4 separate regions of the Homo sapiens genome follow, and regions 1, 2 and 3 are each linked to region 4. The links are contacts of gene promoters, found by promoter capture Hi-C in blood cells and fetal thymus (Javierre and others, 2016). All regions are on one chromosome and are shown on one strand. The core of a region is centred on a gene start or on the middle of the fragment in contact, and the rest is flanking DNA. Distances in the headings are between cores, read along the strand shown.

Region 1 (6,736 bases), core at 3,927-6,426, 300 kb before region 4:
TACATCTGAGCTCCTGCTTCATCCTTGGGTTCATCCAAGGACACTCATAGTGATCCTTAGCTCTCTGGCTCCAGGTTTTAAAAGCTTAGCCTTGAGCAGGCAGGTATCTGTCAGTCACCTTGGTGCCCAAACAGGAATTGCTCTTGGGAAAAACTCCTCTTTCTTTAATCCCAATGTCTTTTCTCTTTAATACAATAATGAGATTTTCTCCCTGATCAAAAATGGCAGTAGTGCCTGTAATCCCAGCATTTTGGGAGGCTGAAGTGGGTGGATCTCTTGAGCTGAGGAGTTCAAAACCAGCCTGGGCAACGTGGTGAAATCCTGTCTCTATCAAAAAATACAAAAATTAGCCGGGCATAGTGGCACACACCTGTAGTCCCAGCTACTCAGGATGTTGAGGTGGGAGGATGGCTTGAGCCTGGAAGGCAGAGGTTGCAGAGAGCTAAGATCATGCCACTGCACTCCAGAGTGCAGACAGAGTGAGACCCTGTCTCAGAAAAAAAAAAAAAAAAATTGTATAGTATAGTATAGTATAGTATAGTATAGTATAGTATAGTATAGTATAGTAGAATGGGAATGCAGCCTTTCTTTAATTTGCCATTTGTAATAAATACAATACATAAAATGAGCCATGTATTTGAGTCATTACAAGTCTGGACAAGCCCTGGCCAATAGTGACTATGTTGTTTTCAGGCCAGACCAAAAAAGGGCACTAGTCTGCCCTACTCATACTTGCAACTGACTTTCCACATTACCAGGGTTCTTGGAGTTGGAGAGCATATCTTGTGAAATTCTTTGCTGCCTAGAATTTCACTGAATTTTCCATACTGTAGGCATGGCTCCTAGGTAATCAAGAAGGTGTGAACTCTGGAGTCATGCAGGGCTAGGTTCAAAACTAGGCTCTCCAACTTATTGTCTATGCATGAATTATAAATTATATAAAGCGGCTCATAGAGCACCTGGAATTTGTGTTTAGGACTCAATAAAAGTTAGGTGTTGTCTAGGTGATTTTGTTAAATAAATGAGTAAGAAATATGCTAGATGGCCTTAATTCTTCTTCATGATAAAAAATGTATATACTTTAGATTTGTATGGCACTTTTAAAGTAGTTTATTTGTCCATTTGGCAAATATTTTTAGAATAGTGAACAAATACTTATTTACAAAGCAACCAGAAGTAAGCTTTTGCAATGTGCCAAGATTTTAGCTTATAAATTCCTTCATTTTTATGGGAAAATATTTTATTAGGCATATTTTAGAACTTTCTAATTGCTTAATATTCACATCCATGATTCAGTATAAAAAAGACTATAGCCTCCCATCTTAACCAGAATCCTCTGATGTTCCAGTAAGGAATTGGCTGGTGAGAACTTAGCTTTCTTGAAAGACCTAGAAATGCCCAGGGCCTGCATTTTTTTGAACACTGATATGCAATAGACCAATTTAGTCAAATGCATATCTACAAGTGAGTTATTATTCCATATTTTAATGCACAAATTGAGGCTCAGAGAGATTAAGTGACTTGCACAAAGGTCACAGAGCTGAAAACTGGTGACATTTATACTTGAATTTAGATCTGATCAATCCAAGATTCAAAATCTACCCTGCATTAACAAATGGTTTTCTTTGTGGTTCCCTAGACATCAAGGATATGAGATCCAGAGAGTTTAAATCTCAGAGATCTGAGGGATATTATAATATTGCCCCTTCAAATGAAAGCACTGTTAGCAGTGGAAGAGATCTGAGTCACCCCAAATCACTGGTGGTGAATCTGTACACATTTGTGGCATCTTTAGGCCTTGCCTCCTCAGAAGAAATAATTTGACTGAGGGGCATAAAACAGAAAAAGAGACTGAGGCAAGTTCCAGAGCAGGAGTGGAAGTTTATTAAAAAGGTTTTAGAACAGACAAGAAAGGAAATAATCTTTGAAAGAGATCCAAGTGGGCACCTGAAGGTCAAAGAGAGAAAAAAGGGACACTTACCTTGATCCTAGGGCTCTATAGGCTCGCCTCTTTCCCATAATTCTTTCCTTAGGGTGGGCTTCCTGCATGTGTAGTCCCTTCCTTACCCTTGGGAACTGAACACATGCAGTGTGCTTAGGAAGTTGTACCCATGTCCATCTGAGGCTTTTTTCCTTTTTGTGGTGGAGTGCCCTGAAGACCATACTTTGCCATTTTTGTCTCTTAATATGCATGCCCGGGAAGTTTCTTCTCCCTGGGATCTGCTTTTCTTGAACACTTTAACATTAACAGGTGTGGACCATCAGGAAATGGCCTCTCCCTGGTGCCAGCTGCCAATTTATCACTTTTAGAGAGGCAATGCAATAATTGCCGAGCCATCACCTGGCATTTCTAGTGGGTTGTCGGGGAGAGCCCTCTCCTGCCCCGCTAATGCCTAACTACCTGTAACAGCACTACTCTGGGAAGTTGTAGGATTTGGAACCACATATCCACCCTTTCATAGGCAAGGCAGGATTACAGCCTCGTTAAAGTCTTAGTGAAATGGCCTAGGTTAGAGGAGGCAGCTGGGTGGTGGTGGTGAGATGGGGCAGGTATGGGGACCAACTAGACCCTATATCTTGATCTTAAAATTACTTATTGATTTTTAAGTGTCCAAGGCATTTGTGAGTGGGTCTCCCTCCCCCATTCTGCATACTCTGAGTCATCAGAGAAGAGGGATTACTTGTCCCTTCTTGAAGTTGAAGTTGATGTAGTAAAACATTATGAAGTTTACTTTTTAAAGTATCATGTTCTAACTATTTTGAAAGAGCTTCAGACTTACAGAAGAATTGTAATAGAGTACAAAGAATTCATGTATAATATTCATCCATATTCCCCAAATGTTAGCATTTAACCACATTTGCTTTATCATTTTTCTCTTTACATACACAAACACATTTCGGAGACTTTGAGAGCCAGTTGCTGCCATGCCCCTTTATCTCTAAATATTTCAGTGTGTTTTTTCTGGAAATAACGCCATTCTCTTACAGAATCACAGTATAATTTTCAAACCCATGAAATTCACATTGCCACAATACTATTACATAATTTATAGACCTTACTGAAATTTCACAAGTTGTTTCAGTAAATTTTTTTCTAGCAAAAGAAAAAGTCCACAGCATAAAACGTAGCGTTTAATTGTCCCATGTCTTTATGTTACCAGAAAGGGATCCCAATCCAGACCCCAAGACAGGGTCCTTGGACCTCGAGCGAGAAAGAATTTGAGGCCGAGTCCATAGAGTAAAGTGAGTGCAAGTTTATTAGGAAAGTAAAGGGATGAAAGAATGGCTACCCCATAGGCAGAGCAGCAGCAATGGCTGCCTGACTGAATATACGTATAGTTATTTCTTGCTCATATGCTAAATAAGGGGTGGATTATTCATGAGTTTTCTGGGAAAGGGGTGGAGAGTTCTCAAAACTGAGGGCCCCTCCCCTTTTTAGACTATATATGGTAACTTCAGACATTTCTGTGGCATTTGTAAACTGTCATGGCACTGGTGGGAGTGTCTTTTAGCATGCTAATGCATTATAATCAGCATATAATGAGCAGTGAGGTCAATCAGAGGTCACTTTCATTGCCATCTTGGTTTTGGTGGGTTTTGGCCAGCTTCTTTACTGCATCCTGTTTTATCAGCAAGGTCTTTGTGACCTGTGTCTTGTGCCGACCTCCTATCTCATCCTGTGGCTAAGAATGCCTGACCTCCTGGGAATGCAGCCCAACAGGTCTCAGCTTTATTTTATACCCAGCCCCTACTCAAGATGGAGTTGTTCTGGTTTGAATGCCTCTGACATTTAGTCTCCTTCAAGCTGGAATCATTCCTCAGTCACGTTCCCTTTCATGAACTTGCCATTTTCTTGCTAGGTACAGGACAGTTCTCTGTAGAATATCCCTCAGTCTGGTCTTACCTGGTGTTTTATCCTGTTTCCTTATGATCAGATCTATTTAGGTTGTGCCTTTGGGGCAGGAATACCGGGAGAGCTGCTGGGTTCTCAGAGCTTCCCATCAGAGGCCCTAAGGCTCACTTTGCCCAGGACTGAGGATGTTTACCTCTGTCACTTGGTCAGGTGTTGCTTTCAGGTTTATCCACTTGAAGGTACTGTTCTCCCCTTTGTAATTAATAAATATGTGAGGAGACATTTGGAAAGATTTAAATAGCTTGTTTCTCATCACATTTTCACCCACTAGTTTTAGGATTCTTGCCTGAAATGTTTATTGTTGCAGAGGTTGCCAAATGTCGATTTTTCTCATTTTGTTTTTCCTACTATGTTTATTAGTTGAAATCCAACACCATTGGTTTTCTAACAACATTCCAGAAAGATTTCATCTGTTAAAGAGAAAATATCTGGGCTAAATTAAATCCATAAGAAATAAAAACCTCTCTTCTCTCCTCTCCCTAACCCCAGAGCCCAGGTATTCAGCTAAGTGGCTTATCTATCCATATTTAATACCATGGAAATATGTAGAGCTGTTGGAAATTGTTCCTAAGGCCATTTTCTATTTTAGGTGACAAAATTCCTAATCCTCTCTTAGATCCTTCTCTCTTCAGGTTTACCCTATACTTTTTCTCCTGAAGTCTTGGTCTCATTCTGCCTTTCCTGGCCTTCTCCTTAATACACACACACCCCTTGGAACCTGGCTCTTAAAGCTGCAGAAGGAAAAGCTCTCTTCTGAACATTAAAGAACCTACTCACCTGCAAACCTCTTTCAGGGCATGGCCAGCAAGTGCACATTCCACAGGCACCCTTAGTCCCTTTTATTTCTAGCTCAGCACTTTCAGTAATGCCCTATCCAGTCTTAAAGTCCAGATACTCAAGATGCATCTAATTAAATTCTCTCTGTCACTCTCCAGGGTAAAATTAGGCAATTAGTTATTCACACTTAATTTCATACTCTTGAAATGCCTTTTTAAAAATAGAACCTATAACAGATCTCTCCTCCACTAGGCTCCTGAAATACAAAGCTATGTTTAGAACTCTTCCCCAATCTCTTCCCTCAGAAGATTTCTGACTTTCATCTCAATTGTCTGTGAGCACTATCCCTTTCCTGGGACAATCACTCTCTGTACCACGGACGTCGGAAGATCCTTAGATTATTCTAACAACTTCTTATATATTTTTCAGGGAAGCTAATTTTCACTTATACCAAAGGACAAGGTTGACCAGCTTCCAAGAAAATCTTTCTTCCTGGTTAATAGACTATGCTACTTTTCATCTTAGGGAAATGGATCTTTTTTGCTTTATAATATGATGCCTCTCTCAAGCTGAATAAAAAGCATCCTCTGGTCCAAAATTCATGGCACAGTCACCTGTTTCTGGGAGGGGAAATGCATTTATGACTAACCATAAATCTTAAGCTAGGAATTGAAATGCTAGGGCTGCCAAATAAAGCAGACTTTCTTTCCCAGGAACTGCTGGGGAACTGAATCACTCATTAGTACCAGAAATTGCTATATTTGGAGAAACTTCAATTTCTCCTGAGTAACCTTGTTTCTCTATAAGGTAATGTTTAGAGATAATATTTTTCTTTCTTCTTCCCATTTAAAACCCTCAAAAGACAGCATTTCCTTGCCTCATTCTTGAATGGGCTAAGAATGAAAGAACTCCTCACCAACAGTTTTTGGCTACTTTGGGACAGGGAGCTTATCTTCCATGGAAACTCACCAGACCAAAAGCCTTTCTAGAACTCGAGATGAAGATATAGCCTCTGTATCAGTATTGAGCCAAAGCAACATATATTCAGAGACCCAAACTTCTGTTAGTTACTATAGCATTTCTAGATATTGATTGATGAGGTGGACTCAACTGCTCTGTAAATTACATGATAGTTTATCTTAGGCATGTTTGAACTGGACATAGAATACCTTGACAAAACACATCTGTAAACTCAGAGTATTATAATAGCTAGCAGGTCAGAAAAAGAAGTGACCCATAGAAACTAAGGGCTAAATATTTTGTCTGTAGCCTTCCCTTCTGTGATTAAAGTTTGGTACATAAAGGGAAAGAATCAAGCATTTATCCTGTCTTTCCTGTACCTCACTATAACCAAATGGCAGATGAAGGAAAGTTCTTTCTTATAAAAGACTTCCAGATAATAAAGAAGAAATGATAAAAGAATATCAGTGTTTTGCCACTGCAACAATAATGGATTTAGGCAATGGTATCAATGACTCTTTAAATCTATTAGGTGACAGGCTAATGGAGAACCTTAAAATAGAAGGACCAACCTGCCAACACTTGAATCTACCTGTCAATCTTAACATATCCAAGAGAGAAGCAACCTAATATTTTGCTTTGCAATGAGAAGCAAGAGAAAATATAAAATACAACCTGTAAAATACTCTTATCCAAAAGTTGAACCTGATTCCTATTAAGTCTCTAGATTTAACTACCAGTACGTAGGAAATACAGAGGCGAGAGGAAATGCGAAACAACATCCCAGGGATGGAGTCAGCAAAATCCAGAATGTGGGAAACTCTCAAGACAGACAGCCCAATTTCTTCAACAAACAAATTCCAAGAAAAATTAGAGAAGAGGAACCCATAGATGAAAAGACATCTATGAGAAGTATCAAACAAATGTGATGTGGACTTAGGATCCTGACTCAACAGTGCAACTAGTGAAAAAAAAAAGACAAGTACTAGATTACCAGATACATTTGAACATTTGGATATTTGAAAATACTAAGTAATTATTTGTAATATTTTGGTGTGATCATGGTATTATGGTTATGTTTTTAAG
Region 2 (6,703 bases), core at 2,586-5,085, 330 kb before region 4:
GGGAAGGTCTGTTCAAGGTGGTGATATTTGCATGGAGGCTTGTGTGTGGGTGGCTCCGAAGATCTCCCCCACTGATTTGCAAGGACTCATAGGATTTAGCATACTCATGGCTAAGATTTATTACAGTAAAAAATGTGAAGCAAAATCAGCAAAGGGAACCAGCACATGGGGTGAAGTCCAGAGGAAACTGGGTCAAGCTCCAAGAGTCCTTTTCCAGGAAAGTCACCTAGGATGCACTTAATGCCTCCAGCAACGAGTTGTCATGACACATGCAAAGTGTTGATACAAGGGAAGCTCATGAGATACTGAGTGCCCAGGATTTTTACTGGGAGCCAGTCAGGTAGACACCCTCTGCTTAGTATGTACCCAAATCCCTGGCCCCCAGAAGGAAGCAGGTGTCCAGCATAAATCACATTATTTATACAAGCAATTTAGACACAGCAAGCCTCCCTTATAATTTAGGGGAAGTTTTATATTAGCATGGGAAACTGTTTAATAGCCGAGTTCCCAGATACCAGTGCAGTGCCAACCTTCTGAGCAGGGCTTTCTCAGGACAGGCAACCTTCAGCCTGTGAGGTGAACTCTTTTCTGAGTAAAGGTGGGAAGCTGGGGGAGGGTGATTAGACTGGGAAGTGAGGAGCCATAGGCATGTTAGAGGGAAGAGCACTCGAGGCAGAAGAATGATTAAGGGCAAAGACAGTGAGTCTGGAGCGTGTTTGACGACATGGAAAGCTCATGTGACTGGAGCAGATGGAGGGAGGAGGAGAGTGAATAGATATCTCTCCATGGTGAGAGTTGATTTCTGGGCATAAGGACCCCCCAGCGCCAGACAGTTTTGTTCCACAGGCCTTTCAGAGATAATGACAGGGAAGCAGGCCAGCACTTATTGACCCCCTGCTAAGACTCAGGCTCAGTTCTAAAAGTATCACATAAATGATTAAATGATTTCTCGTTTAATTCTCTCAATGACTCTTGAAATAAAATGAAGACTGCAACAGACTTGGGGCACAGAAAGGTTAAGTTACTTGACCAAAGTCATATGGTTAGAAGAGCGGGCGGGTCTTGTGGCCAGGATGTCTTTGCCCAGAGCCCCCACTTGCAACCTGTGGCGTGGGCTGTGAAATTAATTGAGTCAGAACCAATTTTTTAAAAAATTAAATAGAATGGGTAGTATCAGAATGTGTTGTGTATAATGAGGGTAAATATTGTTTTTTGTGAAAATTTTGCTTCATATATATAGAGTTTTAAACACACACACATAAGAATATATATATGCATACTAGGTTGCTTTGAAAAATGTATTCTTTAGTTTTGGTATTAATGAAAAAACATTGTAAGCTACTGACCTAGCAAAGCTAGATTCTTTTGTAGATATGAATCACACATTTTTTCATCACTCCACCTGTTTCTGGGATAATCTGGGATAATAATGTTTATGGGATTGAGTCAAGTCCCAGAAGTTCATCTACTAGAACTTCTATCCACCAGGACACTAGAAACTGGTACTATAGAGTAGTGCTAGAGTTGACACAGCCTATAACAAGCCCCAAGTCCCGCTTTATCAGGATACATTACCACACGTAAGAGGGCTCTGTGTTCTAGGTGGGGAGTCAGGTTTGTTGCCCTCAGCTTTGAAGTCTCCTTGTGACTCCTCAAGGTCCCAGCCCTGCCTGCTGGTTAACCCTGACTGCCCTTGACCCTGCGCCTCTGCCTTGTTCGTTTCAGCAGGAAAGGAGGTTGGGATGGAAGTACCAGCCACACTGTCTGCAAACCTGACTGATCCACTTTATATACTGCTGTTGTGGCCCAAAGTTATGAAGGAAGAAAAATAACACATTATGAAATTTTAAATATTCCAAGAAAAAGGGATGTAGATTAGGGTGTATAATCACAGTGTTGCTTTCCTTGTGTCTACAGTATAATGTGAATGAAATTGCTGTCAGGATTTTAGAATGATGAAGTCTTGTGCACTGAAATTTTATGATTTAATCACAATGGCTATTAACAATGTCAACATAATTTAGACTTGATGAAAAAGAGCCAAGAGGCATCCAGGAATTGGCCTTGCTGATTTTGATAGCCTGTGTAGGCAATTTATGACATTTAAGACATCCTTTTATTATTATTATTATTATTATTATTATTATACTTTAAGTTTTAGGGTACATGTGCACAATGTGCAGGTTAGTTACATATGTATACATGTGCCATGCTGGTGCGCTGCACCCACTAACTCGTCATCTAGCATTAGGTATATCTCCCAATGCTATCCCTCCCCCCTACCCCCACTCCACAACAGTCCCCAGAGTGTGATGTTCCCCTTCCTTTGTCCATGTGTTCTCACTGTTCAATTCCCACCTATGAGTGAGAATATGCGGTGTTTGGTTTTTTGTTCTTGCGATAGTTTACTGAGAATGATGATTTCCAATTTCATCCATGTCCCTACAAAGGACATGAACTCATCATTTTTTATGGCTGCATGGTATCCCATGGTGTATATGTGCCACATTTTCTTAATCCAGTCTATCATTGTTGGACATTTGGGTTGGTTCCAAGTCTTTGCTATTGTGAATAGTGCCGCAATAAACATACGTGCGCATGTGTCTTTATAGCAGCAAGATTTATAGTCCTTTGGATATATACCCAGTAATGGGATGGCTGGGTCAAATGGTATTTCTAGTTCTAGATCCTTGAGGAATGCTCACCATCACTGGCCATCAGAGAAATGCAAATCAAAACCACAATGAGATACCATCTCACACCAGTTAGAATGGCGATCATTAAAAAGTCAGGAAACAACAGGTGCTGGAGAGGATGTGGAGAAATAGGAACACTTTTACACTGTTGGTGGGACTGTAAACTAGTTCAACCATTGTGGAAGTCAGTGTGGCGATTCCTTAAAACATCCTTTTAATATCTGCCCCTCATTTTTTATTGGAGTGTGGTATCTCTTTTATCCACTAGAATGTGTAATAACAATGGCAAATGAGCATAGAAACTTTCTGGAAAGACTGTGTGTATTGATCAATTGCAGAGTGTTCTCATAAATTGATAACCTTTAACATTATTAAATAATTTTCACACATCAGGTGTGTTTACTTTTTTGTGAAAGCTAATAGATATAGCATATGCATTTTATCAACATAGTAGAGCCACGAGAATGCAGTTTTCAATAACATAGTTTCTCCAAAGCTATGGTTACCAGTTACTTCTTTCCAGGCAAAGTTTTAAACTTAGGAGATTATTTCAGATGATGATGTTTCTTATTTCTATATTTCAGAGCATATCAAACAGTAATAATAACAACCATTTACATGGTCCATTACATGGTCCTAATGATAGTTATTACTTACATAGTACTTACAGTGCCTGGCATTGTTCTATGCGCTTTACATTTACCCAGTGAATCTTCAACAACTCTCTGGGATATGATTTTTATTTTAAAGATGAGAAATCTGCAATGCAGAGAGGCTTTGACACTTCTCCAAGGTCCAAAGCAGAAGGGCTGCTGGTGGACAGCAAGTGGCAGAGCTAGAATGCGAGTTTGAGTTTGGCACCACAGTGTTCTCTCACTTCTTCCTTCATAGTTAGCGAAGAAGCTCAAGGACCTGGTGAAGCAGATAAAGAGAGTATTGCTCTTATTCCAATTTTAAGAAGGTGGAATTAAAGATCAAGAGGTTAAGCGATTTGCCCAAAATAACAAAGTTAGTGGCAGAGTCTGGGGCAAAGGCAGTTATGCAAATGCAAATGTGATAAAGTCTTCAGATTCAGTGCTGTTTCTGACTTTTCAAACAGCATGTTCTCAAGACATTCGGATTATCCTGCATGATGACTCACTCTCCCTACTTGTCATCTGGGCCTGGAGGAGGTGGCAAGAAAGTCTGTCTGCAGCCTAAGTGGGAGAAGAAGGTGGGAGCGTGGGGGATAGAGTTGCTGATAACATCTCAGACTCTGGAGGGAGTTCATAGCCAGCAATCAGAATGTTAACCTCTGTGTCCCACCATTTAAAACACACTTCTTTCTCCTGACAAATTAAAACATTTCCTTAAGCCACAGTTCTTTCAGCTGATCTCCAAGGTCATTCAATGGTACAAGAGATCATTTGTGTCCCAACAAACTGGAATTGGGAATTGGAGTTAGGCCATCTTGGGTGAATCCTTTGCATTTTACTTTGAAATATATTCTACTGAGTATTTTTGTATTCAAATATGATCAGTGAATTTTGTGCATATCTGATAAAACATATTTTTGTCCACAAGGGGGCTTCATTTTCCTATTTTTCAAGTTCCTCTTTCAGTAATACTATACATTTTGTTTTGTTGTTTTTATACTGAAAATAGAACCATTTGCTTGCTTTTGAGAAATACTTGTCATCACTAAAAGGAGCTTTGAGAGCTGGTCACAGTAGAAGAATTAAGGCAGCAAAGTTTGAAATGCCAATTGAAGCTCTCGGGGGACCAACAGTGGGAGAGTGAATTCATGAGCATTTCACATCCCTCGTATGAAACGCAACAAAGGTCTAGGCTTTGTTGTTTTTGTTTGTTTGTTTGTTTGTTTGTTTTTGAGACGAAGTCTTGCTCTGTCACCCAGGCTGAAGTGCAGTGGCACGATCTCGGCTCACTGCAACCTCTGCCTCCAAAGGTCTGGGCTTTTAAATATTAAGTTTACAACTAGGATTAAATGGGATCACAATTAGGTTTCTAAATACCACTAAACTCTTCTTAAAGCTAAAGGTCAATTTAAAAATTATTATTCCAGGTTTGTGTTATTTTCTGATATTTATGCTTTGAACTATTCTTTTTTGGGCTTTGGATCACTTTAAAATCTGAATTCAAATTGGGGGTCTTTGTTTTCCTTCTCCTCATCTGCCTGAAGTTTCCATTACCAAGCACTGGGCACTAAATCAGGCCTTACCTGAAGCAATGGGGTCGTTAATTGAACTAAATTTGGTTTGAGTGGAAATGAGACCTGAGGCTACTAGATCTTGTTTTGAGTGGCAGGTTTTCCATTTGTTTTGGAAGATGGTATATTTCAGAGGCGAGAGGGAGGGAAAGCAGTGTTCCATAGCAGAGTAGCTGCAGTGGAAAACATGCTTTGTCCAGCCTTGGTGTGTATGGCCTTGGAAAAAATGATTGTTTCTACAAGTCACGAGAAGAGAAATGGCAGCACATTTCCAAGTCAGCTGGAGCTCTAGAAGAAATGAGGATGAGATATGTGGATGGATTAAAAAATGTAAAAAGTGAAAAACCAGAATGAGTGGGCTTGGAATTTTGTTAAACAGTCCAACTTGCGCATTTTATTATAGCCTTTCTGTGGGTTTAAATGAAGGCCAAAACCTTATTATTTGAACGTTGTATTGATTCGCATTTCTGGTAGCTATTTAAAAGCTGATGTCCTTAGAGCTTAGTGCTGCAAAATCTTCAGTAGGCATATTCAAATGGCAAGATATAGGCATGTCCATCAACAACACAATTATTAAACAGATAAACTATTCACCCCAAGTTATGAAAGAATGCTGGAAGATTAAACAAAATCTGCAGTACATGTTATAGAATAGCCTCAATAATGGCAATAATCACACTCTAAGTGACTTTTTGGAAATACTAAAAAGTCACATCTGTCCTCAAAGCCAAATCTGATGAAGAAGATGGGTCATATAAAGCTAATATTTATTGAATGCTTACTATGTGCCTGATGAAACAGTTCTAAACACTTTTCATATATTAAGTCACTCAGTCTGTGCAACAGCTCTATCATTTCTAGTTTACTGATGAGGAAATTAAGGCAGAGAGAGGTTAAGAAATGTGCCCAAGGTTATATAGCTAGTAAGCAACAAAGCAGTGACCCAAACCCAGGTGGTTTAACTGGACAGAAACTAAATCAAGCATTCTTGAACAACCTGAAAATATTTAAAAGAATTTCAAGTAGTGCTATTGTTATTGGCACATGTTATTTTTCAACATAACTACTTTGAGGAGTTAAACATTGGTTTGGCAGTGTAAGTTCGTGTGTGTGTGCATGCGCATGTGTATATATGTGGAGTATGTGGGTATTTATTTATGTATAATTACTTTATGGTCTCATCTGTTAACTTTTAAGAAATTAAAGGATAATTCACAAAGTAGTTTTTTTTCCTGTGTTATCAGTAGTTGGTGTATTAGAAGGAAGCAGAATGGATTATCTTCCAGCCCCATTATGCCTGACATGAAAACATAGGAATCTTATATACTTTCTGAGTTTCCTGTCTCAAGTTCTGTTTAGTTATTAGATGATGCCATCCATCATCTAATTGGAGTAAGTTATTTCACAAACTGCTCTTTCTACTGAGGGAAATGGTTCTCTTTAACTGGAGAGATCATCTATTAAGTCATTTAGGACTGAATTTTTAAACAAGTTATGAAAAAGCGTAGAAGATGATAAAGTTCTTATGCATGGGTATGTGCACATGGTGTTTCTGTGGGTAAGAAAAATACATATAAATACAAATACAGATATAAATGTGAAATTTGAGTTAGTGACAAAACTACTTGTCTTTAGTGTTAGTGAAGTATCCTGTGGCTGCATGATTAGAGAAACTCAAAACAGCCAAATTCCATCAAATGTGATTCAGTGTCCATATAAACATTTTAAACCCATGTTCAAAACTGAACTCCTGATCTTACTCCCCAAATCTACTCTACATTCAGCTTTCCTTATCTCAACT
Region 3 (6,618 bases), core at 2,143-4,642, 280 kb before region 4:
ATTACCAGCCTGGCGAAACAAAACAGTCTGGCTTCCCCTCCTCTTTTTCCTCTTAATTTTGCAACTGCACACATAAAATTGGTGTCCATATTGGAAGGAGATACACACAGATATTTAACAATAATAATTCATGTTATTGTTTGTGAGTGTGCCTGCTGGAGCCAGAATATCAGTGTGAGATCCAGATGTCAAACCTCAGTGATTAATCAAGTAATTAACAGAGAGTTTGGAAAGTTTTCTTCTAGAGGCTCTGGAATATTCTACTGATTTACAGATGGGTTCAATTAAAAGGAAATAATGCTTACCATTTGGTGCTGGCTCAAACTGTGAAAGAAATATTTTTGGCAAAACTTCATTTAACATTGAAAATTGAAGTTTTAGAAATTGAAAAATCTGCCTGAAATGGCTTCTCCCATATGCAGAGGCATAACGGAATAGTTTTGACTCTTTGTCATAACAGAGTCACTGCTTCTTAACAAATGACTGGTGAATAAATAAGTGTATAGCAGAGGTTAGTATCAGAAGACTGGCAGGTTTTTGCTTAAGAGAAGGTATACTCTGGGCTAAGCTGGGAGTGGAGAGTCTCTCTTTTTTTTTTTTCACCTCCTGAAAACATTTTTTCATATTAAGAGGTCTTGGCAGATTCCAACCTTTAGCGGTCCCTTCTCAAACATCTGGGTACATTTCCTTATAGTCCTGCATTAATTAGGTGAGGTGAAGGTGACACAGAAGCTGGCTTTACTCTCTGGTTCTTCAGATTTCTGGAGCTGAAGTGGACACATTTGGAGGGTAGATGGAAGGTGATGGTACATATCAGGTGATGGATCCTGAATTTTGGATGGGACTGAGCTATCCACTCCTGCATCATTCAGAGGCATCATAATTAATAATGAGGTTTAGCCCTGCGCGAGAAGAGGCATGAGGATGAGAGTGGGCTGGGAGCCCACTGTTTGGCCTGCTGAATGATGGATCTTTTGCTTATGATACACAAAAACACCATTGGCTGTTTCATAGAGACCGGGTTGAGGCTGCCTTCTCATAGAGATCTACAAACATTTATAAGGCGCCTCATGTATATGAAATGCTAGGTCCTCCCCCTGGTCTGAAGATGCAAGATGGTATCCCTCAAGGATCTTTTTGGTCTGCTTCTTCTAGTAGGCCCTTCTAGAGTCACACTAGAAGTGCCAGGACAGATGAGGATATGGGAGAAATAGGACAAAGACACGCAGAGCTTAGGACAGGGCTTTGTGTTTTCACTTCGAGTGCTCATAAGTGAGTGCTGCCCATCCAGAGGGGCAGCAAGAGTTGGAACACAATGGCCCACTCTAGTGTGTCCCCCACCCTCCATGTTTCTCCGCCCAGCTTTGCACTCCCTGTCCCTTGGTGTGCCCCAGGTCTGGTGACATGGCAGAATGGGTAAATAATCGACTCTGGGTCTGTTTTGGATCATAGCCCTCTATTTCCTAGAAGTGTGACTTATTCAATTTCTCTGAACTTAGTTTCATCAGTCAAAAATATGGGGATAGTGATATTAGTACCTACCTCTCTGGGTTTTGTTAGGATTTAGTGATATAATCGCCTGATATTAATAGAATAATAATAATCATACAGTATTTTCAATGCATCAGGCAGAATTTTCTTACCTAGGGTTTTAATGCACTATAAAAGAACTAATCTATGAAGTCTCTGAATAAACCAGAGGCTCATATTCTACCCAAAGTGGTATATTACTGGTAGTAGAATTTCAGGTGAACGATTTAGGATAGAAGAGGTGTGTTTAGGAAGGGAACTTCCCAAATGCTCAAACTCTACCTGCCATGCAGGGCCGTTTCCTTGGTCCTTGGATGGGGACTTGGTAAGAAAATGGATGAAGGAAAGAGCACACCAGGAACATTTACAAGGGGCAGACTCAAGCTGAGAGAGATTGAGAGTTCTTTACCTTGCAGAGGGGGCTGAACCACTGATAAAATACCCTGCCCTATTCGCTTCCTGTTCAAGCAGGGATCACATCTGCACAACCCCGTCCTGGATGGGAAACCCTTACCTGCTCTTCCCTCCTCCCAACCCGGTTGGTCTCAGGCTTTCATCAATTGGTAATTTATTTTTTAATTCCAGAATTAACAAAGGACTGTCACTTAAAAAAATTAATATCCCTAGCAAAATTTAAAGTATCCAACTATCACCGTAATTCCATTTTTTAAAGTAAGGGCAGAATCTTAGAACAAAGAACTTCATGGTGGGAAGAACAGATTTTTATGAAAAATTCTCTTTGTCCAGATTTGACTTTGGCCTGGGAAAACCTCAGGACACATCATCAGGGTCAGGAGTTCACCGCTGGAGGCCATGCTTATGGGTGCTTTGATTAGAGCAGAGGCAGAAGCCAGGGCAGAGGGGAATTCAGGCTCCTCAATGTTGGTGCTCTTTAGAAGGTGTGGCCAGGTGTCCCTGGTACATGTGTACATATGCGGTAAGGGAGGAATGGGAGTGAGAGTGAGGGGCAAATTTGCTACTTAAGGGTCTAGAGAATAGCAGTTCCATGGATATGCAACCTGTGCAGCCATACAGGGCCCATTCTCAGAGGGCTTTGGGTTTGGTTGAATGCTCTGTGTCACATCTTGAAATTAGAATAATTTCTTAACAAGAGGCCCCACATTTTCATTTTCCACTGGGCCCCACAAATTATGCAGATGTTTCTGAGTCCTCATAGAATTTAATTGATAGCTGCATCAGACACCTCTTCAGCACAGTTTAGAATTCTCTCAACTTTGCATCTGGCTCCAGCCTTAGCTGTGGCTACAAGTTCCAAGCATGTTTGCAGCCATGAGTGTGCACTGTGCCCTGCACTACCCACCTGAAGGCTCCTCTCTTTCCACTGCATGACGGTGGGAACTTGTGCTTGCACCACCCAGAAGTATGGCTCTGGTCCAGTGGAAAACTGAAGCCTATGGATAAATGCTTCCTCGTTTCATCTCCCAAGTGAACGGTTCTGAAATTCATTCTCTGAGACTTCTCAGAACATCCTGAAGATTGAGCACAATACATTGGTGTGTGGACTCTTTTCCTTCCCTGTTTATCATCCCTGTTCCTCACTCCTGCTCCCACTCACAGATGAGTCTTTGCTTTTGAGGAAACCCATGCGAAGACAATAGTTTACATTCTCCCTGATTGTGACCCCTACGATTACAGACTCTGGGGCTGGGGATCCATTGCCTATTGACTCTTCCATGACCCTTAGGCACACAGTTACGCCTGGGTCACTTGTCTCCAGGACCTACTTTCTGCTAGGCCCCTTGCCTGCGGCAGCTCAGGTCTGTGGAGACACTGCTTTCTGCCCACAGTTGGCAGCCAGGGACCCTTGTGCCCATGAGGAGACTCTGGCCCAAGGCTCTCTTTTGGAATCATGTTGAGGGGACAGGCATTCACTGAACCATCTTCTAGCCGAACATCTCCTTACTCTTCAGTGCACTTTCTCTGCTGATCATGTTGGGTCCCAGAAACAATAACCTTTTTACCCCAACTTTTAGCAAGACCAAGATTTATTGTATTTTGTAATATTTTAGAAAGGCTTCTTTTCATGCTTTTCATTTCAACATGGTTCCTGCCTCTTCAAAGACTACATCAGCTCTCTTCTTTAAAATAATAGCTTTATTGAGATATTTATATACCATAAAATCTACTCAATTAAAGTATACAATTCAATAGTTTTCAGTATTTTCAGAGTTATGCAATCATTACCACAATCAATTTTAGAACATTTTTATTACCCCCAAGAATTCTTGTACCCATAGCAGTCACTTACCATTTACTCCCAGTTCCTCTAGCTCTAAGCAGCTACTAATCTACTTTCTGTTTCTATAGATTTGCCTATTCTGGGTGTTTCATATACGGTCATGTGCTGCCTAACAACATTTCAGTCAATAACAGACCACATATATGGTGGTGGTCCCATGAGATTATAATGAAGCTGAAAAATTTTTATTGCACAAATACCTACCATTGTGTTACAACTGCCTACAGCAGTCAGTACAGTAATATTCTGGACAGGGTTGTAGCCCAGGAGCAATAGGCTATACAATATAACCTGGACATGTAGTAGGCTATACAACTTAGGTTTGTGTAGGTGCACTCTGTGATGTTTGTACAACACTGAAATGGCCTAACAATGCATTTCTCAGAATGTAGCACTATCCTTAAATGACTCATGACTGTGTATAGAATCATACAATATGTAGTCTTTGTGATCACCTTTTTCAGATAGCATAATGTTTTCAAGGTTCATCTATGTTGTGGCATGTAGCAGTTCCTTTTTATGGCCGAATAGCATTTTGTTGCATGGGTATACCACATTTTATTTATTTATTCATTCATCAGTTAATGAACATTAGGGTTGTTTCCATTTTTTGGTTATTATGAATAATTCTGTGTGAAATATTCATGTGCATGTTTTTGTGTGGATATGTATTTTCATATACGTATGAAAACATGAAGTTGAAGAAATGAAATTGATTGGTTCATATGGTATTGTATATGTTTAATCATCTGAGCAACTGCCAGACTGTTTTCCAAAGTGACTACCATATTTTCCATTCCCACAAGCAGTGTATGAGGGCTCCAATTTCTTTACATCCTCACTATACCACTTTTTTATTTTAGCCATCCTAGTGGGTGTGAAGTGGTATCTTATTGTGGCTTTGCATTTCCCTACTAGCTAACAATGTTTAACATCTTCTCATGTTCTTACTGGCTATTTGTATGTCTTCTTTAGAGAACTGCCTATTCAGACCATTTGGCCATTTAAAAAATTGGATTATTTGTCTTTTTGTTATTATTTGTCTTTTTGTTATTATTTGTCTTTTTGTTATTATGTATTTTGGATACTAACCTTTATCATATATATATATATATATATATATATATATATATATATATATATAATATACAAAAATTTTCTTCCATTCTGTGGGTTGTCTTCTTACTTTCTTGTTGGTGTTCTTTGAAGCACAGAAGTTTTAAAATTTGGTAATGTCCAATTTACCTATTTTTTTGTTTCTTGTACTTTTGATATTATATCTAAGAAGCCATTTCCTATTCCAAAGTCATGAAGATTTATGTTTATGCTTTCTTCTGAGAGTTTTGTAATTTTAGCTCTTACAATGAGATGCTTGACCCATTTTGAGTTAATTTTTTATATAGTGTATATAGTGTGAGGTAGTGATACAATTTCATTGTATTGCATGTAGATATCTAGTTGCCTCAGCATCACTTGTCAGAAAAACTATTTTTTTCCATTTAATTGTCTTTGTGACCTTTCAAAAAGGAATTGATCATAAATATGAGGGATTATTTGTGTACTCCCAATTCTATTCCATTGATCTATATGTCTATCTTTATGCCAGTAGCAACCTGTCTTGATTACTATAAGTTTTGAAATCAAGAAGTATGAGTTATCCAACTTTGTTCTGTTCATTTTCAAGATTATTTGGGCTATTCTGGATTCCTTTAATTTCCATATGAACTTAAGAATCAGCTTGTCAATTTCTGCAAAGAAGGTAACTGAGATTTTGTTTGGGATTGCATTGACACTGTAGATAAATTTGGAGACTATTGAATTTTAACAATATTAAGTCTTTTCATCCATGAACATAATATGTCTTTCCACTTATTTAGGTCTTTAATTTCTTTCAATAATGTTTTTGTCATTTTCAATGTATAAGACCTGCACTTCCTTGGTTAAATTTATCCCTAAGTATTTTATTCTTCTTATTACAAATGAAATGTTTTCTTAATTTACTTTTGGGTTGTTTATATCTGTGCAGAAATACAGCTGATTTTTGTAATATTGAGCATCCCTAATCCAAAATGCTCCAAAATTCAAAACTTTTTGAGTGCCAACCTGATGCTCAAAGGTCATGCTCAAAGGAAATGCCCATTGTAGTACTGTGAATTTTGGGATTACGGATGCTCAACTGGCATGTCTATGCAAATATTCCAAAGTTCAAACAAATTTCCAATCCCAAACAATTCTGATCCCAAGCATTTTGGATAAGGGATATCCAACCTGTATAACAATCTTGTAACCTGCCACTTAGTTTAAATATTTTATTAGTTTTAATTGTTTCTTAGTGGATTATTCAGAATTTTGTACATACAAGGTCATGTCCTCTGCAAATAAAGATACTTTTATTTCTTCCTTTCTAGTCTGAGTGCCTTTTATTTATCTTCTTGCCTAATTACCCTTGCTAGAACCCGCAGTACGGTGTTGAATAGAAGTGGTGAGAGTGGGCTTTTGTGTCTTCTTCTTCATCTTAGGAGAAACTTTTCTTTCTCTCTCCATTAAGTATATTCCTAGCTGTGGATTTTTTTATAGGTGTCTTTTATCAGATTGAAGAAGTTCTCTTCCATTCCTAGTTTGTTGAATGTTTTCTTTTAATCATAAGGGGTGTTGGGTTTTGTCAAATGCTTTTTCTGCATCCATTGAGATGATCATGTGTTTTTTTGTCCTTTATTTTGTTGACATAGTGTATTACATTCATTGATTTTTAGATATTAAACCCACCAATCTCACTTGGTCATGGTGTATAATCCTTTGTATATACTGCTGGATTTTGGTTTGCTAGT
Region 4 (6,846 bases), core at 2,993-5,492:
TCCTAGAGATTATGTTTAGTGCTCTTGAATCTGTTAAGCCACATAAAATGATACTGGTTTTAATGAAGGAAGTTTTTCAAATCCCAAGTGACTAGAGACAAATCCAGTTCTATAATTTAAAAAAGATAAACTAGGCCGGGCATGGTGGTTCACGCTTGTAATCCCAGCACTTCGGGAGGCTGAGCTGGAAGGATTGCTTGAGCCCAAGAGTTAGAGACAAGCCTGGGCAACATAGCAAGACACCTGTCTCTACAAAATAAATAAAGAAGTAAATAAGCTATATATTTTTTGTTTTGGACACAGGGTCTTGCTCTGTCACCCAAGCTGGAGGGCAATGGTTCAATTATGCCTCACTGCAACCTCAAATTAACTCCTAGCCTCAAGCAATCCTCCAGCCTCAGCCTCCCTAGTAGCTAGGACTATAGGTATGAGCCACCATGCCACGCTAACTTCTTTATTTTTTGTAGACAAGGGAGTCTCCCTATGTTGCCCAGGCTGGTCTCGAACTCCTGGCCTTAAGGCAATCCTCCTGCCTCGACCTCCCAAAATGCTGGGATTACAGGCGTGACCCTGGCCATAACCAGATGGTTTAATAGACTAAGTAGACCATTGCTGTAAACTCAAAATAGATATTAGAACACACACCATACCTTTTCTAATATATAATTTCAAAAGCAGGCCATTTGACAAAGCCTGAGTGCATGGTGTGATTGACAGTGAATGAACTGATGCCAACCTAAAGTAGACAGACACCAGCGGCCCAGCACACATGTCCAAGTGTCTGTACTTGGTTCCATCCTTTCAACTGTTCACCAGTAATTTGCACAAACTCACAGAAATGTGTAAAAGGGCAGCCAGCATAGGTCCAGAATGATGTAACACAATGGAATTTAAATGCTAAATCCCTCCATTAAAGGCTCACAAAGGCAGTTCCACCAACACCAGTCAAAAAAGTCAAAGATTCATAACAATTTATGTTTTAAAAAAAGGCATAGGTAATGTAAATACAGGTTTAATACAGGCCAACAGCAATATGATTGCACAAAAAACGAATTCAATATTAGACTGCATTTACAAATCGCAAATTGCCAAGAAAGTTACTACTGTCTACTAAAATTAGTACTGATGTCCAGGGTACTCCCTTTCAGCGGCAGCAACAAGACTGAAAACGTTTGATCATTCTCCCAGCAAGCCCCTTCCCCCATAGGAGTCAGAAGACCAGTCACGCATTTGGAAGGGGAAGGAGAGAAGCAGAGAGGAAGGAAGCGAGACTGCTGTCTCCAAATGTCTGAAGGCGGTCCCAGGGAACAGAAAGACAATCAAGGGAGGCAAACTTCAGTTCAATACAAGAAAAGACATGCCAGAGATCAGGGTTGCTCATAAACGGACTGGCCCACCAGAAAGGCAGTGAGCACTTCACCAGTAAAGGCCAGACCCGCTGAGGAAACAGGGACAGTAGGTTTCCCTGCTCAGGAGTAGGTTTCCCTGCCCAGCCGCCCCTACACTGGACTTTCACAGGCAAGACTGCCTCCCTAACTCCCACACCTCCCCATTCTCTCAATCAAGGCATTATATGAGAATGCACATTAGTAAGAAATGTTAAGACAAGCACTACTGCTATATATTTTTTTAATTTGCAAATTCTGGTGCTTTAGCAAAGGTCAGAGACACTAACAACTATTAATAACTCATGAACTCTGATAGTTGGACAGCTAACTCACTGGGATACCAGCAACGCTGCTCTCAGATCCAATACTCAGATTATATTCATTCTATGTAGTTTCCCTAAACAATTTTCCTAAACAACGTTCTCAATTTCAGTACATTAATAGATTTCAAACTCAAAATGAGTACGCTTTTCCTGAAATTACTTCACTTCGTAAAGGTTGCAGGCAAGAATTCTTTGCAGGAATTTCTTAAACTCAGAGAATTGATCTTAATTCCTCTACCAAAGCAGAGATTGAGAGGTGTGGAAGGGTGAAAGCAGATTTCTATTTACAGACATCCGTTCTTCTCCATTATTTCCTCACTTTTTGAAACTCACCACTAAGTGACAGTGCAGTGTTCAAACAGATACCTAACATGGTTTAGGTCCCCTTCTAATTCTACCCTCGTCTCAAGATTACAGATTTGAGCAGCTCATTACTCAACTATTCAAACTCTAAAATGATAGCACTGTCATCAAAGGTACTCTTTGAACCTTCGAGAAAGAGTACTCATTCCCTAATGCAAGATACTCGAGGAGGAAGCTGCCTGTCGAGCAATCCAACTTACACTCTAGGGAAAAGACCCAGGCGTCCACGTCTCTGCTCGCTTCCTCACCTGTAGAATATGATTCTGAAACCCACAGTGGTACTGCTGTCAAAGTCGCCCCTTTCAGCCTGCACAATACACTCCATATCACCTGCTCTAAGGGCCAGGCTTTACCTTTCTGAACGTGGATGATGTCCGGGAAGTTAGCCAGATGCCCCTGATACAGCGCTAATAGGTCCATGACGGGATCCAGGTCCTGCCTGGGCTGCTCCGCGAAGAGCTCGCCAATGGCGTCATAGGCATCTCCGGTGAAGGCGATAGCCTGGTTCAGGCCCACCGAGAAGGCCTGCTGGTCCAGCTCAAAGGCCTGGCTGAGGCCGCGGAAGGACTGGCCCACCTTCTGATACTCCTTTTTGAAGCCGGTCACCTGCTTGCGCGCGAACTCGTTGGCCGTGTGGTTGAGCTGCAGCGCGCTGTCGTCCATCTTCTTGGTGAAGCACTTGAAGCCGTCGATCTTGCTCTCCACCTCCTGCAGGTCAAGGGCAGCGGCGGGGGGCGTGCTAAGGGTCAGGAAGAAGTTGGCGCCCACCATCTCGTCCTTCTCGGCCTTCCTCTTGCCCTGCTTCCAGGCTTTCTCGTCGGTGCTGCTGGGGCACGTCAGGAAGTGCTGGAAGACGTCGCACTGCGCCAGCACTGGGTGGCTGGCCATGTGGTTCATCCACCAGATCAGGCCCTTCCTGCGCTTAGAGATGAAGTCCTCCTCGAAGCGGCCGGTGGCCTGCTTCTCGGGCAGGTGGGGCACGGAGATGACCGGGAACTTCTCCGCCAGGCGCGCGTACAGCCAGTCGAAGTGCTTGTAGCGCCGATGCACCGGCACCTGCGTGTGCGTGGGCACCAGCTTGTAGGAGATGTAGCTCTTCATGCCCTTGAACTTGGTCTGCTTGGTGGGGTCGTCGATGGTGCACTGGAACGGGTAGGGGTTCTCCTGCCACTCGGGGCCATAGGGCCCCAGCACCACGCACAGCTTGTCCCCGTCCTTCACGAAGCCTGACGCCTCCCCCAGCACGAAGGCCTCCCCGCCGGACTTGACGAAGGTGGAGAAGCGATTGAGGTTGCGGCTCACGGTGGCCGAGCTCTTGGGCCCCGACGGGTGGTGCTGCGGGGGGACCGAGCCGCCGCGGGAACCCAGGGACAGGTCGGAGCGCGTGGACAGGCGGTAGCGGCCGGCTGCGCCCACACCCGCCGAAGACGAGCCGTCGAGGTCCGGGTATGCTCCGCTGCCCAGAGCGCCCGGCTCGTCCGCCACCGTGGAGCTGTCGTCCCACTCGTCGTCCCAGTCATCATCGCTGCCTTGGCTGGCCTGGTAGCCGCCGTAGAGCTGCTGAGGCGACGGCTGCAGGGCGCCCCCGCCGTACGGGAAGCCCGCGCCGGGCGGCTGGAAGGTGCTCGGAGGCGGCGCCTGCTGTGGCTGCAGCAGCGCCTGGAAGGCGTCAGGCGGCGGCTTGAAGGAGGCGGGGGGCGCGACAGGCAGGGGCTCGAAGCCCCCGGGGGGCACATTGGCGTAGCGGGCCGGGGCGCCCGGGCCGCCGTCTCCCGCCGGGCCAGGCTCGGGGGCGCGGATCACCTGCACATAGGAGGCCGGGAAGAGGCCGCGGTCGCCGCGGCTGTTGACCCCCTCGAGCCAGCCCTCGATGTCCTGCTCGCTGCACAGGCTCAGCACCTCGTGCTCTCGCAGCGAGATCTCTCCTGGGTTCTCCGACCTGAAGTCGTACAGCGCCCGGGCGCGCAGCGCCATGGTCCCGGCGCCCCGACTGGCGGTCCCGACTCCCGGCGTCCCGAGCCGAGGCCCACCTGAGGGGCCCGCGGTACTGCTCGAGCCCTGGCGCGCGGACTGGAGCCCCGAAGGCGGCAAACCCACGCTGCCCGGACCAGCCGGTCGCGCCCTCCGCGCGGCTCCGCTCGCAGCGCCTCCACTTCGCAGCGCCGACTGCCGCGCTGGGCCGCCGCAGCCGCCGCCGGTCGGGGGCGGGGCCCGCGGCCTCCCACGTCTCCAGCTGCGCTAATCCACGGCCGAGAGCCCCTTGCCAGGCGAGAGCAAGCGATGGCCGAGCCGCCGAGCCCACCGCCCGCGTCGGCTTTGCGGCGGCCACTGCCCTCTAGTGGCCGGTGCCGCGAAGCCGGGCGCCGTAGTGAGCGCGGCTGAAGGAGGTTTCTACTCCGAAGTGAATTATCTGAGATTTCTTTAGGCTTTTAAGTTAAACATTCTCTAGAAAGTAAGTTAGCATTTGCATGCCTGATAAACGTTCCCACTCTGAGCGCTCAGTGAATGCTCCTAGAATGGCAACCCAGTCATGTAATAAAGCATTTTGCAATGCGAATTAGTGATTGCACTAAGAAAACAGGATGCCTCTGCGGAGGAGCTGTTCACCTACAGAGCAGGCTCCCTTCCCTCTTCTGCTCAAGGAGAGGAGATTGGCAAGAACAAAGTAAGGGCCAGGGAAGGTGCTGTGATTGACAAAATTAGAAGCAAAGGATCATGTAGAGAGGGAGGAGCTGGAGAGTTTCCAGTACAATAAATGCTCACACATTTATTACATGCATGTGTCGCCTATCCTCCCATAGATATATGTAGTGCGGTGAATGAGAGCTCAAACTTCGGAGCCAGGCTTCTGAATTTCAATCTGTGTTCTGACACTACCTAGCTGTATGACCTGGAACAAGGCACTTATATCGTACCTACCTCCGGGGGTTGTTGTGGGGATTCCATCATAAAGTAATCCCTATTTTACAGATGAGGAAAGTGAAACAATATCTGGCAGGGTAAGCAGATTTGAAGGGTTTGTTGCTGCTTTTGCTGCTGTTACTGTTATTTGGGGGAAGCAAAATCCCTGGCCTCTTTCACAAAGGGAATAGGGGTACTAAACTAACAATTGCAGGGTACATGCACCAGGAAGCGTCCCAATGTTCACATTGCCACTCCTAGTAAGAGGTCAGTGACCATCCATCCATCTGTTGTCTCTATGTCTCACTATATTTATATTATTTTTAAGATAAATAGAACAAAAATCACTTCCTGAAATAATCAGCTCCAATCTATCGTTGCCTTGTTTCCTATCTTCCTTTCCTTCAGTGTATAATTTGCCCAAAGCTTTTTCTTCTCTTAATCCCCTCTTATTAAGTCTAGCCTAATTATTCCTTTGAAGACACTTCTAATTGAGGTTCTGCATTCATGTGTCATTAATTTCAGCCTGTCCTCTGACCCTTTTCAAGGAAACCTGGGAAACGGGCCAGAAGAGTGTACAATTATTCTAAGGGCTGTGGTATTGTAAGCATCTTGCACAAAAACACAAACCCACTATACCAGAATCACTCCCACAGTGTTTATCCTAATGCAAAACCTTAATTCAATTCAGTAAGCATATTCTAAATTACATTTTTAGCTGAAAATTCTGGGTTTTGACTATTCTCACAGTAAGCAACAGGGATCATTGAATTTCAATGCCAACATTTCATGTGGTCAGAAACATGAAGTCCACATTAACTAAACCTCTAGAATATGACTCATTTTACTTCTGAAAAGCTAACCTAGAATATGTAAGATAAATAAATTTAGTTTCGCCCCTTCTGTTCGTTTAGTAGTTACTTTTTAGATTAGAGTTAAGTACAGTAACTTTGGGCTTATTTCAGGTGTGAAAATTCCAGGAGTTTAAGGTGATGATTTTTTACAGACTGGTTGAGCTACTCTGTAGAAATGGTGGTTGAGGAATTATTGGGTGTCCAAGGTTGTTTGTAGCACTGGGGCATGGGCGTCTGCAGGTGCTTACTTTGTAGGAGTCCAGTGGGAGGCCTCTGTGCTTGCCGCGCATCAGGCTTCCAGAAGGATGAGGACAGGCTGTCATGATGTTTGGCCCTATGGCCACTAGTGGCAGGAAAACCCCTACCTCTAGAGGGTCTTAGATATGTAGAAAATTGTGCTCCAGTATTAACAACCTATAACTGTTCACTCAGGGAAATAGATACAGTAACACATTTTGTAAAGATTTCTCTAGAAAATGGAGCATATTATTCACAGTTTAGTTTACACAATCATTATAACCACCCATATGCTTCTGTAAAGTTTTTAGGGGACACTAAATGACCCCAAACAATTGCATTTTCTTACTTCCTCCCTTGGCCTGAGAGGCCTTAGATAGCCTGGCCCTTGGCTATCTTTCCAGCCCCCTTTTCCACTGAAAGAAGCCACAGTGGTTGCTTTGCTATTTTTGGGACAAGTCAAGCACGTTTCTTGCTGAAGTTTTTGCCTTCGCTTTTCTCTCTCCCTGGAGCCCTCTTCCCCGGGAGATCCACCATGCCACATCATCGCTTCATTCGGTCAGAACCATGGGGCTTTCCATCCCTCCTTTCTTCTCCTTCCTTGGAGATACCGGAAGACAGAGGGAGCCTGGGTCCCTGAGTCACCGACCCCAATCATACTTTGTGAGAGAAAAATCCTTTGTCCGACTAAGCCACTGAAATTTCAGAGATTGCTGAGGCAGCTGGTACTAATTATGCTAATATAATCTCCCTCCCTCCCTCCCATCCCCTGTCCATCCC

Evidence for each region. The method cuts DNA at HindIII sites, captures the fragments that hold promoters and counts their contacts. A CHiCAGO score of 5 or more calls a contact.
Region 1: a fragment that was not itself captured here is called in contact with the fragment with the promoter of SNX18 in region 4 in 1 of 17 cell types (neutrophils); the score reaches 7.6 in neutrophils.
Region 2: a fragment that was not itself captured here is called in contact with the fragment with the promoter of SNX18 in region 4 in 17 of 17 cell types (monocytes, M2 macrophages, naive CD8 T cells and 14 more); the score reaches 58.9 in monocytes.
Region 3: a contact is called between a fragment that was not itself captured here and the fragment with the promoter of SNX18 in region 4, in 13 of 17 cell types (neutrophils, total B cells, naive B cells and 10 more). The highest score is 19.4, in neutrophils.

Annotation. Positions count from the first base shown.
Region 1 is chr5:54,819,168-54,825,903 of GRCh38, reverse strand. It overlaps the pseudogene CSPG4BP. Among named protein-coding and RNA genes, the nearest start is that of LINC02998, 78 kb to the right of the region's middle. The HindIII fragment of the contact is 7,986 bases long and covers 1,184-6,736 here.
Region 2 is chr5:54,842,888-54,849,590 of GRCh38, reverse strand. It overlaps the pseudogene CSPG4BP. Among named protein-coding and RNA genes, the nearest start is that of LINC02998, 100 kb to the right of the region's middle. The HindIII fragment of the contact is 9,684 bases long and covers 1-6,703 here.
Region 3 is chr5:54,797,081-54,803,698 of GRCh38, reverse strand. No RefSeq gene overlaps it. Among named protein-coding and RNA genes, the nearest start is that of LINC02998, 56 kb to the right of the region's middle. The HindIII fragment of the contact is 7,306 bases long and covers 1-6,618 here.
Region 4 is chr5:54,515,155-54,522,000 of GRCh38, reverse strand. It overlaps SNX18 (sorting nexin 18), which reads right to left and starts at 4,242. Exons shown (of 2, transcript NM_001102575.2): 1 at 2,428-4,242. The coding sequence starts at 4,048. RefSeq lists an enhancer at 2,390-3,334 and silencers at 3,807-4,366, 4,247-4,488. The HindIII fragment of the contact is 5,643 bases long and covers 1-5,403 here.